2 separate regions of the Homo sapiens genome follow, and region 2 is linked to region 1. The links are contacts of gene promoters, found by promoter capture Hi-C in human tissues and cell types (Jung and others, 2019). All regions are on one chromosome and are shown on one strand. The core of a region is centred on a gene start or on the middle of the fragment in contact, and the rest is flanking DNA. Distances in the headings are between cores, read along the strand shown. Region 1 holds the start of BMP7 (bone morphogenetic protein 7). Region 2 overlaps RAE1 (ribonucleic acid export 1).

The links. Contacts are between HindIII fragments. The study calls those that stand out against the background at their distance.
Region 2: a fragment that was not itself captured here is called in contact with the fragment with the promoter of BMP7 in region 1 in 3 of the 25 tissues and cell types used here (dorsolateral prefrontal cortex, mesendoderm cells and thymus).

The regions. Positions count from the first base shown.
Region 1 is chr20:57,264,659-57,270,216 of GRCh38, forward strand. It overlaps BMP7 (bone morphogenetic protein 7), which reads right to left and starts at 1,983. Exons shown (of 7, transcript NM_001719.3): 1 at 1,047-1,983. The coding sequence starts at 1,464. It overlaps LOC112268270 (translation initiation factor IF-2-like), which reads left to right and starts at 1,782. Exons shown (of 2, transcript NR_171651.1): 1 at 1,782-1,984; 2 at 2,125-2,629. RefSeq lists an enhancer at 1-362, a promoter at 1,471-4,832 and a cis regulatory region at 2,090-2,182. The HindIII fragment of the contact is 13,311 bases long and covers 1-5,558 here.
Region 2 is chr20:57,351,635-57,356,805 of GRCh38, forward strand. RAE1 (ribonucleic acid export 1) reads left to right here. Exons shown (of 12, transcript NM_003610.4): 2 at 2,398-2,494; 3 at 3,078-3,182; 4 at 4,812-4,904. The coding sequence starts at 2,405. Among named protein-coding and RNA genes, the nearest start is that of RAE1, 3.0 kb to the left of the region's middle. RefSeq lists an enhancer at 11-90. The HindIII fragment of the contact is 5,894 bases long and covers 502-5,171 here.

The DNA.
Region 1 (5,558 bases), core at 733-3,232:
GTGGTTTGCGCGCCACACGTGGTAAATGCTGAAAATAGATTCTGCCGGCCCGGGACCTACCACTAAATACTTAAAATAGAAGACTAGCGGCAGGGCACAGTGGCTCACGCCTGTAATCCCAGCACCACTTTGGGAGGCTGAGGCGGGAGGATCACCTGAGATCGGGAGTTCGAGACCAGCCTGCCTAACATGGAGAAACCCTGTCTCTACTAAAAATACAAAATTAGCCAGGCATGGTGGCGCATGCCTGTAATCCCAGCTACTCGGGAGGCTGAGGCACGAGAATCGCTTGAACCCGGGAGGCAGAGGTTGCGGTGAGCAGAGATCGCGCCATTGCACTCCAGACTGGGCGACAAGAGTGAAACTCCGTCTCAAAAAAAAAAAAAAAGAAAAGAAAAGAAAAAAAAAGAAAAAAGAAAAAAATAAACAAAGAAAGAAAACAAAGAAAATTAGCAATGGCACCGTTTCTTCCCCAGCTCCAGCCAAGAGAGAATGGGGCATCCGGCGGCCCGGAGAGGGGCCCCAAGGCGCTCGGAGCGCGCGGTACGCTAAGGCGGGCGCACCACGAGGGGACAGGTAGGGCTTGACAGGGAGGGTAAGGGGGTGCGACGGCCGCGATGCCAGAGCCAGGCAGGGCTGAGAGGGGCCCAGGAAGGGCGGCAAGGCAGCCTCGCCGGGAAGGGCCCTTTACATCCAGGTAGCGCGAGCCGCGCCGGCCCGGGACAGCTCACATGACCGAGCCCCGCGCTTTGAACGGCCCTTGCCTCCAGCCCCAGAGATGCGGCCGGCGGCGTAACATGGAGGGGACTTCGGAGGATCCCTCCTTCCCAGTAACCCCTACAGGCTCACCGAACCCAGCGCGCCCGACCTGGGGGCGCACACAGCTTGGGAGTCATAGGGCTGTGGGTGGGAGACCCTCGGGCAGGCACTGCGATTTCAGCCAGGAGCGGAAAGCTGGGCGGGCTGCATAGAAGAAGCGGCTCCCTCCCTCCCAGTCTCAAAGTGCCCCCGAAAGGAGACGCGTACCCTCGCCTGCCCTTACTCACCGAGGTTGACGAAGCTCATGACCATGTCGGCGTCGGTGAGGAAATGGCTATCTTGCAGGCTGGCCAGAGGGGGGCCCTGGGTACTGAAGACGGCCTTGTAGGGGTAGGAGAAGCCCTGGCCGCCGGGCCCGCCGCCCTCCTCCACCGCCATGGCGTTGTACAGGTCCAGCATGAACATGGGTGCCGAGTTGTGCTTGCCCTGGAGGTGCGGGCGCGGGCGGTGGGGCAAGCCCAAAATGGAGAGGATCTCGCGCTGCATCTCCCGCCGCTCCTGGCTGCGGAGGCGCCGGTGGATGAAGCTCGAGTGCACCTCGTTGTCCAGGCTGAAGTCGGCCAGGGCGGAGCGCAGCAGGAACAGGGGTGCCCAGAGCGCCACGAAGCTGTGCGGCGCCGCAGCTCGCAGTGAGCGCACGTGCATCGCGCCGGCTCTACGCGCTACCCGGGCTCCGGGCTCCGGGCCCGCACCGCCCCAGGTGGCAGAGGGGGCAGGCGGCCGTCCGCGCCGCTCGGTCACTTGCTGCAGACGGGCCCCGCTGCGCCCGCGCCAGACATGGCCCCTCCCCGGCCGGCCGCGCTCTGCCCGGACCCCCGCCCCCTGCTCGGTGCTGGCCCCGGGCCCCTCGCCCCGCACTCGCCCGGGCGCACCGCAGGGCTTGGAAAGCAGCCCCGGCGAACGAAAAGGCGAGTGAGGAGGCGGGCGCGGGTGGGAGGAGCAGCCAGCAAGCCTAGGAGTCCAGAGAGCCAACGCCGGGGAGGCAGCGAGGAGGCAGGCGGGCGGGCGAGCGCTCCTTCTTCCCGCTCCTCTGGCGCTCTCGCCCTCGGGCGGCGGCAACCCACCCTCTTCCAACCTCCGGCGCGGATAGCAGGGGCCCCGGGGCGCTCTCCCAGCCTTGTGCGCCCTGGATCGCACAAGAGGCCGCCTCGGGAGCGCCAGAGTGGTACGCGCTGGGGCCTGGGCGGAGGAGGAGGAGGAGGAGGACGGGCTTCGAGGGGCCCCTCCCGCGCCGGCGGCCTCCCACCTGCCCTCGGCCCCGCCCTCCCCCCAGCTGTGCCCAGTGGGTTCATTCATTCCCTCTAGAGCGCTCGACAAATGTTTACTGAGTGCCCACGGGGTGCCTAGAGCCTGGCGGGACGTCGCGGGGATGCGGCTGGAGGAATCGGAGCCGGCCCTGCCCTCTCGGCACTCGCGGTCCGGACCAGGAAGGCGGCCCGAGCAGGACGGGTGGGCTGCGGACCGCGGTGGGAAAAGTTGGGGGAGCGCGGAGGTGGCGCGGAAATAGAAGGCTTCCTGGAAGCGGTGACCCTTGAGCCGGTCTTGCCCCTCAGTCCCTGTATCCTTTTAAGCCAGCCACGCTGACCCCTCCGCGCCTCCCTGAAGCCGTTGCCAGCCTGTCTCTGCGCTCGCCATTCCCTCCGCCTGGACCTCTCCCCACTCACCACCTCCCGCCCCCATCAGACGCTGCTTTCTCCTCCCAGAGACCTCCAAGACCTGCCAAGCTGAGGTTGTTTCCTCGCCTCGCCCCTCGCACGTTTGTTTTCTTTCCTGTAGTTTCTCTTGCTGTCTGGAATTGCTGTTTGAGTTACTCCGTGCCTTCTTTATTGCCTTCTTACCCCCGCTAGACACCCAGAGCACTGGGGCCCGGATCAGCGATCTTCTCCGCACCTCTGGTACCCGCAGTGCCTTGAACCCAGCGCCTGGTAGCCACTGTAGCTGCGCAGTCACGATTTGTTGAGTGAATAAGTGAACTGCGTGTGAGCTGGGGGGGTTCTTCCCACCTCCTCCTCTTCGGGGCCCTGTATCTTTCCAGCCACCCCTCAGCCTGAGACCAGACACCCCAGCCCCACCACTAGGGCTTCCCATCAGCCCTCCTCGTGGCAGTGCCTGGGGAGCCAGCCGCTGGTCTTCACATCCTCTTCCCCTCCAAGGGTCTGTGCCTGAGACCTCCCCATCGGCCTCCTCTCCTGTCTCTCCTCATCCATTCATCCCTCAATCAATACCGAGCCATGCACGCTGTCACAGGGAGTCCCCAGACCACTCAGAACCCACCGGTCCCTCTGCCGGTGTGGGATCTCAAGGGAATTACTGCACCCAGAGTGGCAGTGAGGGCAGCGGGGTAAAAGTTCATCCTGTCTCCTTCCCCTCCTGGGGCTGGGTGAGAGAGTGGGTCCCCAGAGGGCCTTTGGGATGAACTGGGAAGGGCTGAGGTTGGGGAAGCGGGGGCGCTTGTCTGGGAGGGGCTCTGGCTAAGCCTCACTTTGGGGCTGTCCTTCCTGGAGCAGGAGAGCTGGGGAAGAGAATTATGGTCTTCTACAGTTTTCTGGAGCAGAAGTAGTTTGGCCAAGTGGCCCTCTGGGTCTCCCTTGGGGACTTTTGGACTAGATGGCAGCCTGAGGGGCCACATGGGTGGAGAAAGGGGAGGCCAGAGGCCAGGCAAGGAGCAGAAAAATGCCAGCCTGCAGGTCCTGGCCATTTACACACAGGCCCCAGGCTGTGGGATGGAACAGGTCTTGAGCCCCATGCCAGGGAGGGGCCTCTACCCACCCACCAGGCAAGGCCCTCAAACCACCCCCACCACCTGCTCTTCATCCATTCACTCCTTCCTTCAACAGACAAGCATGGAGCACAGGATATCAGGAGGCGAGCTGTGGGGCCTGCAACCTGGACAGTCGTACAGGGCCCCCCAGCTCTTAAGGGCCCCACACTTGGTTTCCTACTCTGAGGTCACCATATGTGGTTCTGAATCACCTATGAACAAAGTACCCCCTGCCCCGTACTAATTTTGCACCTGGCCCAGATATTATGTGGCCAGTCCCAGGGCCAAGCACCATGCTGGGCAGGAAGACATGGCCATGAGCGAACCCACATGGCAGACTCCATCAAGGAGCCGGCCTCCAGGCCAGGGAAGCAAAGCAAGAGCCTTAAATAAGATTCAGGGACTGAAGGAGAGGCAGATCTTGTCTATCACTCTCTCTGGAAACAATTCAGAAGCCAGGCAGAGGAGGACATGCAGGAGGGAGAAGGAAAGGTGGGCATCCTGGCAAGCAGGAATCCTACCCCAGGGAGACTGGGGAAATTGCAGGAGTGCCACAGTCGTCCAGGGTCCATCTGAGAGTGTACAACTGGAGAGCCTGGGTCACTTCAGCCTGCAATAAGTGACAGGCAGTGGGGGCGGGGGCGCAGATAAACAGGGTGAGGTGATGGAGGGTGGGAAGGGGAGTTTTTGGAGGAGATGCCACTGACCTGAGTCCTGAAAGACAAGAAAGAGACAGGCTTTTCCAGGGAAAGGCATCCCAGGTGGAGGAACAGCAAGTGCTTGAGCCCTGCAGAGCAGGGAACAGAAACCAGGCTCGGTCCCCAGCCCTGCACACGCCCTCCAGCGCTGGCTTGCTAGGGACAGGCTATGCCACCTCCAGTGCCAGTAGAGAAAAAGGAGGTCATTTTCTTCCAAAGTCTGAAATAATAAGGAGCCAAAGCAGCCCTGTTCTTCAGTAGTAGTCTCTGCTTTTTATCTACTCTCAAATCTTTTGGAGGGATCTTCACAAGCAGGTGAGGCTGGGGGCAGGGGCAGCAGGTCTTGGTGCTACAATTTACATATGAAACAACTGATCCGTCAGTGTCTAAGCAAGGATTCTAGTTTACCCTTCTTTGTGCATCTCACCTGAGCCTATTCTGAGCCTGGCACACAGCAGGTGCTCAATTAGTACCTGTTGAATGAATAGTAATAAGCACAGCCAAAACCTAAAGAGACCGGTTGACTGAGGGCTGACTGTGCAGGCGCCAAGCTAAGGCATCTCCCAGATCCCTCACCCCAGCAACCCTTCCTCTGAGACGCCATCTTTTCTCATGCAAGAGGAAGAGACAACATGCTCTTCATATCCAAGACCTCAAGAGATAAGGTTTCCTCTGAAGTCCCACAAACCCCCATTTAGCCTTATCTTTTCTGTGATCCATGCTTGGTGGGGGGGTCTTTCTTTTCCCTGTTTCCTCCCCGAGAGGCATCCCCAAGACTGCACCAGGCCCTCAGTGAATGCCGAATGAATGAATGAATGAATGAATGAATGAATGAATGAAAACCGGCAAGCAAGAAATATCTGGCTGGGAGTGCATCCGATGCCAGTTTGGGAGCTGAGCCCACCACCAGAAAAGGCTTTGAGATTGCCGAGGGCAAGTCTTGTGTGGAGGAGGTAGCCTGGGCACTGGAGCCTGCCCAGCCGCATTCACACTCCAGCTCTGTCTCTTCCAGCTGTGCACCATGGGCAAGGGACTTAACCTCTCTACACCTCAGTTCCCCCATCTGTAAAATGGGGTGACTGATAGCGCCTGTCTTCTGGGATCGCTGTGAGGTTGCAGAACTTAATTCATGGAAAGGGCTTTGCACAGTGCCTGGAACACAGAGAAAACCCTTGATAAATGTTATTGTGTTACCATCTGGATGAAAAGGAAAATATGGTAACAGGAAAGCCTCCTGAGTTACAAAATAACAACAAAACTTTTCATGATGGTCTGCTTTT
Region 2 (5,171 bases), core at 2,199-4,698, 88 kb after region 1:
ACTGAGCCTCTGGGAAGGGTCACATTGCGTTAATGCAGTGTGTGTCGCCTCTGTCCCTCCCCCTTACACGTCTGGCGTCTCGTCAGATACATGTCAGCTCCTGGGAGAAGCTTTCCCTGGCCGCTTTGCAGAAGGGCGTCCCCTTTTAGCCTCTTCCACGTCAACCTGCTCCATTTCTTTCGTAGCAGTTACCAGTCTCTGAAACTAAGTCTGTTTCTGTCTTAGCCCGCCAAGTATTTATTGTATACGTATATAGGTGCCACCGTACAGGCAGTACTTCTCCAGGCAAGTAGTATTAAACACCAGCCGCCCTGGGCCAGGCATTGTACTGTGGGACCCAGTATGCATTAAGGGAAGAATCCAGGCAAGTGGCTGCCCTCTTGGAGCCAGCATTCTGGGGGGGAAGAGATTTTGAGTGTAAACAAGAAATTCCAGGGGATGTGATGGAAGATTAGATATGTTAAAGTTGGCAAAGAAGCGTCTGAGGAGGTGACTTTAAAAAAGAATACGTGTGACAGCTTTATTGAAGTATAAAATAACATTAATTTCAACCATTGAAAGTGTATATTGTGAGTTTGGAAATTTTATGCAGTTGCGTAAACATGGCAAGTTCAAATTTGGGACATTTTCATCACCCCAAGAAGTTCGGAGGAGGCAACTTTTGAACTGGGATATGAAGATTCAAACGGAGGTAGCTGTGGGGAGGGAGAAGCAAATCATCCCAAGCTGAAGGAACAGCACTAGGTTTGCTCCAAGGCAGGGATGAGCTTGTTGTGTTCAGCGGAGAAAGGAAGCCAGCAGAGCTAGGAGGGCTGGGGTGCAGCAAGGCGGGAGAGAGCGGGAAGAGATTAGGTGGGTCCCACAGATGACTGTGCCTTCTGAACTTTGGAAGCTTCCCAGTGCTCAGCATAAGGTGTGGTCCACACTGACTAACACGAACGATTCTCACCTACCATGTTCTTTTTCCTAAGTTCATCCCTAATGGCAGAAATGTTCTCTCCCAACTTGAAGGTTGAGGTAGAGGAATAGAGTGAAAGTAATATTTATTAAGAACCTGTAGTGCTTTAGGCAGTGTGTGTGTGTGGCTTCATTTAGTTCTCATAACTCTGTGAAGTAGATATTAGTGTCTCTGTTTTACAGATGAGAAAATCAAGGTTAAGTGACCCGTCCAAAGCCGTGTAACCAGCACCTGGACTGATTGCAGAAGCCTTGTCATGCCTTTGTTCGTTCATACAGCCAACTGGTGTTTCAAGTACCTCTGCATTTGAGGGCAGAAGTGTGGCCGGCAAGGACCACATCCCCTCACGTTCACTAAAATGTACATGTGCTTGTAGCTGTTGCTCTGACCTTTTGTTCTGCACTTATTTTTCATGAAGCTGAGGAAACTCAAATGCCTTCCCCAAATTCCTTGCAGTTTCTCCGTTCTGTGTTGTCTTGTTAGCAAGGATGTCACTCAGCCATTTGGCTCCCTTTGGAGAGGTGACTGGTATGGAGGACTTTTCAGCGTAACAGGTAGTAGGATTGAAATGTGGTTTCAGTGTACGTAACTCCTCGGGGAGTTGGAAGGAAAAAAGAAGGGAAAAGTCGTTTATTGTACCCACTATGAACTAGATACTGCATTTTCTACATAATCTGATTTGATCCCCAGAGCAGCCCTGGAGAATGTGTTAATGTTCTCTATGTTTGCAGAGCAGGAAAATGAAGACTGGTGAGATTAGAGTCCCAACTCCTGAGTGGCAAGAGGCCCTGACCAAACCCTGGTGGGCCTGTTAGATTATGATATTCAAGAAAAAACCCAGGGTGGGAGAGGTTCTTGCTGGGTAAATGTCCAAAACACGATGCCCGACCTTTTTAAAACTTTTACGAAGAAATTGCTGATTCGCTTCCCGGACTGGTTGTTCTAGGTAGTTTCATGCGGATGCTGACCTAAACTAGAATGTAGAAATTAGTAGGAAAGTGAATGCCCACTAGGTGGAAACCTGAAAGCACGGGGACCTGCGATCTTGTTTACTGTTATATTCCTGCTGCGCAGCTCAGGGTCTCTATGTAAAAAATGAGTGAATTTATTTTCTAGCTGGTGCCTACAAAATAATCTGCAATGTATCCATACTGGTTTATTAATGGTAACAAATGAACCGTACTAATATGAGATAATAGGGGAAACTAGATATGGAGTGTATGGGAATTCTATCTTTACTATTTCTGGAAACCTAAAACTACTCTAAAATAGAAGGTTTATGTTTTGAAAGCACTCTGCTCATTGCGCTCTTGTCTGAAAAGTGAAGCCTGGCCTCAAGCCACTTTGAGTATTTCTCTTCTGCCAGTTAATTATCTTACCATTGCCTCTCAGTGATATTAAGAGAAAACCCATCCTTAACATTTTTCATTACTTTTTAGGTTCAAAATGAGCCTGTTTGGAACAACCTCAGGTTTTGGAACCAGTGGGACCAGCATGTTTGGCAGTGCAACTACAGACAATCACAATCCCATGAAGGTACCACGAAAAGCTTCCTGGGGCTTGTAGGAAGAGTTTGGGCAGAGTTTCTCCCATCAAGGACAGAACCCGAGATGACTTGGGAGCCTCCTTTAGGCTGAAAGCTTTGAAACTTTGTCTAACTCATGTTTCTGAAACACTGGAGCACAGAAAATGTGTCCCCGTACTTGTGTCCTGTTCTTCCTGGCCTGCCAGGTCTCCAGAATCACCCAAGGTGCAGATTCCGGTGCAGATTCCCAGGGCCTGGCCCAGCCAGGACTGTTGACTCAGAATTCCCATGGTTGGAGAGAGGGGATGGCAGGTGAAAACTGTGATCTAGCACTGTGGGGCCAGAGTGAACTGGTCATTTAGAAAACAAGACCATGGGCATTTCATTAGCAGCTGCTACTGCTAGTCCTGGTGGTGCTGGTACTTTCTCTAGCTTATTTTTTACTCCTGTCTTTGATCAAAGTAAGGAAAGGTCTAATTCAGTTAGTTCTTGTACACAAGGAAAGGCCACCGTGAGGTAATTAGTGAGAAAGAAAACAATTTGGAATGAAGTTGTGAGCGTGCATACATTTTAACATTGACTTTTTTCCCGCAGGATATTGAAGTAACATCATCTCCTGATGATAGCATTGGTTGTCTGTCTTTTAGCCCACCAACCTTGCCGGGGAACTTTCTTATTGCAGGATCATGGGCTAATGATGTAAGTGCTCCTTAAATACGTGTTCTAGAAATCATCTCTCTTTGTATGGCCAAGGTTAGCTTTAGCTCCGTTGTTTCCCAAGTAAATGAATCAGTTGGACTTATTTATGGCCTTTTTTGAGAAATCAATTTAGGGGGTGTGAACCCTTCTGAATGGCAGACATTATTCTTACACCCGTTTTTGTTAGGAAAGCACAATCATATGTGTTGCTCGAAATTTTCTACTTTAGTTCAGTCTCTTGAAGTTTATTCCCAAATCAAATATCATATTCATCCAGAGTGAACATTATACCCAGTGGCACACACCAACAAATTCCCTTTCTTGGCATCCTGACAGTGTTCCTCAGGCATGTATGAAACTTTTTCAACGTTAAATAATAGCACAGATTTGCCTAGATACTTACTCATCATGTACAAAAAGAAAGACAAAAAAATTACAGTTTACTAAAAGAAAGAAAACTCTGGTAGAAAAATAAGCAAAGGGTGTAAAGAGGGACTTCACAAAAGAAAGAATAAACCTGAACCATTCATCCATGCTTGTAATCAGATAAATGCAAATTTAAGACTTTTTTTTATTAAATTAACAAAATTAAAAGTTTAAAAGAATAATAGTGCCAGCAAGGATAAGCTGAAACCCTGCATGTATGGCTGGTAGGTATGTAAGTTGGCTTTTCCACAGGATAATTGGCAATAGTTATCAAAAATCCTTCAGCTTATACCCTTTATCTCACTGATACCCTTCTGGGACTTGAGTAGGAAATCTGATAATGTACTTCATCTGCATTATCTAAATTAACCTTTATAACAGCCAAAGCACTGTGAACTTGTGAAAATTTTGAAAATTTTAATATCCAGTAGTAATGGCAATGTATAGTATGTTTGTATGATGGAATACCATTGTAAGTTTTTGGAAAAGCTTTTGAACTGTAGCCTACAGCACAGGGGCAGCAGGGGTTAGGAGAACAGGAGGGAGGATGGTAGTCAAGGTTGAGCAAGCTTGCTTTCTACATGTAATTTTTAGAAAGATTTCAGATTATTTGCTGCTTAAAAAAAGGATGTTTCAAGTTGAACAGGCTAGTGATGCAGGTGAGGAAAGCTGTAGCTGCAAAAGTGAAGACACTGTATAATCTAGTGTCTTCCAGAAAATATGCGTACATGGAAAGAAGACTAAGAGCACACAGAACCATTAGCTGTGGTTGTCTGTGGTGTGATTAGGGTGATTTTTATTTTTTTGCCATATTTACAAAATCTCTAAAATGTATTACTTTTTTAACGGAGGGGAGATTATATAAAGTATTCAGAAAAGAGGTAAGTTTCTACTTTGGTCTTGATTCTCTGAATGGTAATGGGTAAGTGATATTCTACTTTAAAAGACATATCTCATAGATGCATTGAGAAAATTATCTGCAATTTTATGTGTAAGCAATAGAATTTGTTTATTTTAATAGCTTAGGCGAAGAAAACAGTTGCTTTCATAGATATTTTAATTCCTTTGTTCTTGAAGTTAGATAATTAGGTTGCTATGAGAAGTCTATGTATGGTTAAGGTGTACCCCATTAGTTTTTAGGTGTTAAATGCAAGCAATACATCGTAATTGCTTTGTTTGCATTGAATTTTTTTGTTACTACAGGTTCGCTGCTGGGAAGTTCAAGACAGTGGACAGACCATTCCAAAAGCCCAGCAGATGCACACTGGGCCTGTGCTTGATGTCTGCTGGAGTGACGTACGTTCCCTTCCATTTCTCGTGTTCCATTTTACTTAAAGTACAGAATGATTTAGAATATTTAATAATCCAAACACAAATAGCATATATGTGTTCATATTGTAGGAATTCTAAGTTTCTGAACATAAATATAGTCATTTATTGATGTTCTTAATGTTGGCTTTAGTTAGCCACTTTCTTTGAAAGCTTTTCTTGTATTAAATTTTGTGTGTGTGATTGAGGAGAGTTTAATGATTAAGGGATAATTTATGAAGAAGCCAGCAGGGA